Regions from separate parts of the Homo sapiens genome. Here region 1 is linked to region 2. Evidence: promoter capture Hi-C in human tissues and cell types (Jung and others, 2019). All regions are on one chromosome and are shown on one strand. Each heading gives the region's core, a stretch centred on a gene start or on the middle of the fragment in contact. The rest is flanking DNA. Distances are from core to core; before and after follow the strand shown.

Region 1 (2,700 bases), core at 188-2,687, 310 kb before region 2:
TTTCTTTCCTTATCAAAGCAGTACCCCCTCTGACCAGAAGCCCAACAAGGGTTACAAAAGATTGTCAAAGACCTACAAGCACAGAGATTAGTAAAGCCATGCAACAGTCCAGGCAACAGTCCTATTCTAGGCATACAAAAACCCAACAGACAGTGGAGGTTAGTGAAAGACCTCTGAATTATCATTGAGGCAGTTGTTCCCCTGTATCCAGTGCCAGGACCAGCTTGGTCAGGGAGACCCTAACCCAGCAGCACTAGAGGAATTAAAGACACACATACAGAATATAGAGGTGTGAAGTGGGAAATCAGGGGTCTCACAGCCTTCAGAGCTGAGAGCCCTGAACAGAGATTTACCCACGTATTTATTAACAGCAAGCCAGTCATCAGCATTGTTTCTACAGATATTAAATTAACTAAAAGTATCCCTTATGGGAAATGAAGGGATGTGCCAAATTAAAGGAATAGGTTGGGCTAGTTAACTGCAGCAGGAGCATGTCCTTAAGGCACAGATCACTCATGCTATTGTTTGTGGCTTAAGAATGCCTTTAAGTGGTTTTCTGCCCTGGGTGGGCCAGGTATTCCTTGCCCTCATTCCGGTAAACCCACAACCTTCCAGCATGGGCTTTATTGCCATCATGAACATGTCACAGTGCTGCAGATATTTTGTTTATGGCCAGTTTTGGGGCCAGTTTATGACCAGATTTGGAGGGGCTTGTTCCCAACAATCCAGTTGTACCTAATCCTTATACTCTACTCTCCCAGATACCAGAGGAAGCAGAATGGTTTACAGTCCTAGATCTTATGGACGCTTTCTTCTGCATCCCTCTGCATCCTAACTCGCAATTTTTATTTGCCTTTAAAGATCTGTCAAACCCAGCATCTCAGCATACCTCGACTATCCTGCCATTCATTTTCAGGGCTAGGATACTAGGAGGTCTAGGAACTGGCATTGGAGGCATTACCACCTCCACCCAATTCTCTTACTGTTGGGGAAAAGCTGAGTGTTGGGAAAAAAGCTGAGTGTTGGGGAAAAAGCTGAGGCAGGGCTTGCATGTCTGATATAATGTAAAAGAGTCTTAGAACAGGTCCAGGGTCCAGGGTCCAGGGTCTAAAACCCCTTGTGGCCTTTGGAACACCAAGCTCTGTGCCAAAGGGTGAAAGGCTGCCCTGCTGCACCACACTCTAAGCCAAGGGCATAAAACCCCTCATGGCTTGAATGGAATCCAGGGCTCAGGGCATAAAACCCCTTGTGGCCTCTGGAATGTGTCTAGATTTGCTGGCTCCTTGTTTCTAGCCCTCCCAGGCTCATAGATCGATTGTGTCTTAAACTAGAAGAACATGTTCCCCATTATCTCAAGTAGCAGAACATGTTCCATATGCTTCAAAGAAAATGCTAAACTGTCACAGCTGTAGATCACACACTTGATACACTGCTTTCTTTGAACCCCCACATCCTCACCACCTGCTTCTTTGTTTGATCACCAATAAATAGTGCAGGCTTCAAGAGCTCAGGGCCTTCACAGCCTCCATACTAGCATTGACCCCCTGGTCCCACTTCTTGCACTCTTAACTTATCTCATTCCTTTGACTCCGCCGGACTTCGTAGCCCCCACAGCCTGGTGTTGGGTCTGATCACCCCAACATATTACAAATTATCACAAGAGTTAAATGATGACATGGAACGAGTTGCAGATTCACTGGTCACCTTACAAAGCTAGCTTAACTCTTTAGCAGCAGTAGCCCTCCAGAATTGGAAAGCCTTAAATTTATTAACAGCTGAAAGAAGTGGAACCTGTCTTTTTCTAGGAGAAGAGTGTTACTATTTTGTTAATCAATACAGAATTGTCACCAAAAAAGGTTAAGGAGCTTCGAGACCAGATACAGTGCCAGGCACAAGAGCTCCAAGACACAGGACTTTGGAGTATTGTCAACCAATGGATGCCCTGGTTTCTCCCCTTCTTGGGACCCTTGGTGGCTATTGTGATGTTGCTTATCTCTGGACCCTGCATTTTTAACCTCCTTGTAAAATTTGTCTCTTCCAGAATAGAATCCATGAAACTGCAAATGATTCTACAGATGGAGCCCCAAATGACCACCACTAGCACCTGCTATCGAGGACCCCTAGACTGACCCACCAATCTGTTCTTGCACCATGACACTGAAGACTCCCCTCCTGAGGAAGGCTCAACTGCAGAGCCCCTTCTACACCCCAGCTCAGCAGGAAGTAGCTAGAATGATTGTTGCCCAACTTCCCAACGGCACTTGGGCTTTCCTTTTGAGAGGAGGGACTGAGGGACTAAGTGGCTAAGTTGGCTGGACTTCCTGGGTCAATAGGGACTTCCCTAAGGGAACTTTCCCCTAAGCCAAAATGAGTTATAGCTGCAAACTAAGGGATTGAACCTTCAACCAATCATATAGGGAGTTTAAGCTCTAGCTGCAGCCTGATGTTTTTAACCAATCATGCCCACCTACCCACAAGTGGATAGAAAATAAGCTAATTCTATAGGACAGAAAAAGAAAAAGGGGAGGGGTCATAAGGGGATATAAGTATAAGACACCCAAGCCAAAAATGGCAGCCCTTTCAGGTCCCCTTCCACCATGTGGAAACTTTACTTTCACTTTAATAAATCTTGCCACTGCCAAAAAAAAAAAAAAAAAAAAAGATTAAATAGAATTGTCTATAGGATTTCATTAAAATTGG
Region 2 (2,847 bases), core at 240-2,739:
CAGGTGACAGAGCAAGGCTCTGTCTCAAAAAAAAAAAAAAAGCTTTCTCTCACATCTGTCAAAAGTCCCCCATAAGCCACAGGTGAATGCCACACAGGTACAGAGCAACTGAACCAAAGCCTTACTCCCCCAAGTCATGAATCCCTCACCTCCTTGAGCCGGGCAATAGCATCTCCTATCTCTGGGTGCCCCATCTCATCCTCAGTCAGCACCCTAACGATCTGGGAGAAGTGCTGAACGAAATCCTGCTTTTCTTGGGCATAAACATCTGAATTCTGGTCTCCGTTCATTCTGAGGGAGGAGCAAAGGGCTCTAAGTAGAAGAAAAACAAGTCAGAAACCTGATCAGCTGCTCCCCTCCCCAAGGCCCCTCACCCCAACCACACTCACCGAGGTTCCTCTGTCCACGCTTGGCACCAGCAGCGGGCACTGTGCCAGGCCAGGACTGGGTACCCGTGCACCAGGGAGGGCCGCCGTAGGGAACCCAGCCACCTCTCCCGGGGTGCCCAGTAGGGGGCTGGCAGCAGGAAGACCCCCACAGATCTCAACCAGCGGGACAGGGGCATCCTGGGAGTGGCATAGGGAGGGGGCACTAAGCACTCCCTGCAGGGGCAAGCACCAAAGGCAGAGGCATGGTGGCAGCTCCCCAGATAACTCCCACCCCAGCCTTAGCCCAGAGTGCCCCTCCCTCTTGTGGAATGTGCTTGGGGACAATTACAGGAAGGATACGCAGGGAACAAAAAAGTATGGCTGGGTGACTGAGACCCAACTAATCACCACTTACAATAAACAGGCTAGAACTCAGTGCCTTCAAGATGGCGTGCACAAGGCTGGGTAAGGAGGCGGTACAGAGTAAAGTACCCCAGGATTAGGGGCTGAAAGGACCCTTAAGTCATCCTATTTTACACAAGCCAAACTGAGGCTCTAGGAGGTAGGAAGATAGTAGAGGCAGAGCCAAATCTAGAACCCAGGTCTCCCCTGGGCAGTGGAGAGGGGTGCCCAGGGTCTGAGTTACGCCCCAAGGAGGAAAGAAGCATTGGAGCGAGAACCCATGGGTGCTGCATCCATATGGTCCGGGGTGCTTGAACCGCGCGTCCCAAGCCCCACAGGAATCGCTAGGACTGAGCAGATAGGCTCGGAGCAACTCTGGACGGGAGAGAAGGGCTCGCAGCAAAGGAGTAAACCGGGGTCCGGGCATATTGGGGATTCCAGGAAAGCACAAGGGCAGAGTTGGGAAGTCTCCACACCCCTAGAAGGCCAGCCAGTCTAGCCCACCGACCTTCAAAACGGACACAACAGGCTGGCCTTCCGATGCCTCACAGTATCGTTACAGAAGTAAGGCCCGGTCTCGGCCCCCTTCCTCCAAGGCCCAGCACACATCCTCTCTCACCTGTTCCCAGATACGGATTCCTGCTCGGTCCCGCTTGTTGGCGGGTACTCCTAAAAGCAGAATCCGCTCCGCGATCGGCTCTGTGGGTCGAGTAGTTCCCGCTCTCCCCACACTAAGGGCGGAAATATATAATTAGACTACAACTCCCAATGTGCCCGCGGGAGGGACAGATAACGCGATCCTGCGTGTCCTGGCTGGGCGAAGATGAGCCGCGCTGATTGGCTGCTGGCCGTCGTGTGAGCATGGCGCACTGTGGCACTGTGACGGACGACCAATGGAAGGGCTGAAGTCTAGAGGTCGCGGCTGGAGGCGTCAGTGCCGGAAGCGAGCCAGGCTGGGAACGTCCCCGCTGTGGCTTTGGCTGCCTGTCTTACTCAAGTTTTCATTATCTTCCTGGGCAGCTGATTGGCACGTTAGTAAAACGCAGCAGGACTAGCTTTCTCACTTATTAGTTCTCTAACTTTAGGCAAATCATTTAACGTCTCTGATCCTCAGTGAACTTGCTTGAAACTAGCTTTCCTCATCTGTTGAATGAGGGTGGTAATACCATGAGGTAATGTGTGCAAAGTGCTTTAAGGGCTTAAGAAAGATGAGTCTTGGGCCGGGCACGGTGGCTCACGCCTGTAATCCCAGCACTTTGGGAGGCCGAGGCGGGTGGATCATGAGGTCAGGAGTTCGAGACCAGCCTGACCAATGTGGTGAAACCCCGTCTCTACTAAAAATACAAAAAAAAAAAATTAGTCGGGCGTGGTGGCGCGCGCCTGTAATCCCAGCCACTCAGGAGGGCTGAGGCGGGAGAATCGCTTGAACTCGTAAGGCAGAGGTTGCAGTGAGCTGAGATCCAGCGAACCACTGCACTCTAGCTGGGGAGACAGAGCAAGACTCCGTCTCAAAAAAAAAAAAAAAAAAAGATGAGTCTCACACTTGTAATTCCAGCACTTTGGGCGGATCACCTGCGGTCAGGAATCTGAGACCAGCCTGGTCAACATGGCAAAACCCCTTCTCTACTAAAAATACAAAAATTACCCAGGTGTGCTGGTCCGCGCCTTAATTCCAGCTACGTGGGAGGCTGCAACCTCGCTTCCCGGGTTCAAGTGATTCTCCTGGATTACAGGTGCCTGCCAGCATGCCCAGCTAATTTTTGTGTTTTTAGTAGAGAGGGGGTTTCTCCAGATTGGCCAGCCTGGTCTCGAACTCCTGACCTCAAGTGATCCAGCCACCTCGACCTCTGAAAGTGCTGGGATTACAAGTACGAGCCACTTGGCCCAGGCAGTTATTTATTGATTATAAGCTAAACAAGGGTTGGATTATTCATGCCTCTGCTTTGTAGACCATATACAGTTAACTCCCTGATGTCGACACAGCATGTGGTAGGAGTATAGCGTTGAAGACCACCAGAGGTCACTCTTGTTGCCATCTTGGTTTTGGTAGGTTTTGGCCAGTTTCTTTACTGCAATC

The links. Contacts are between HindIII fragments. The study calls those that stand out against the background at their distance.
Region 1: a fragment that was not itself captured here is called in contact with the fragment with the promoter of FDPS in region 2 in 1 of the 25 tissues and cell types used here (heart left ventricle).

The regions. Positions count from the first base shown.
Region 1 is chr1:155,621,978-155,624,677 of GRCh38, reverse strand. It overlaps the pseudogene LOC100419798. Among named protein-coding and RNA genes, the nearest start is that of MSTO1, 13 kb to the right of the region's middle. The HindIII fragment of the contact is 8,414 bases long and covers 1-2,700 here.
Region 2 is chr1:155,307,508-155,310,354 of GRCh38, reverse strand. FDPS (farnesyl diphosphate synthase) reads right to left here and starts at 1,489. Exons shown (of 11, transcript NM_002004.4): 1 at 1,390-1,489; 2 at 390-566; 3 at 150-312. The coding sequence starts at 565. It also overlaps a transcript of PKLR not described here. RefSeq lists enhancers at 1,130-1,299, 1,630-1,759, 2,662-2,731. The HindIII fragment of the contact is 6,116 bases long and covers 1-2,847 here.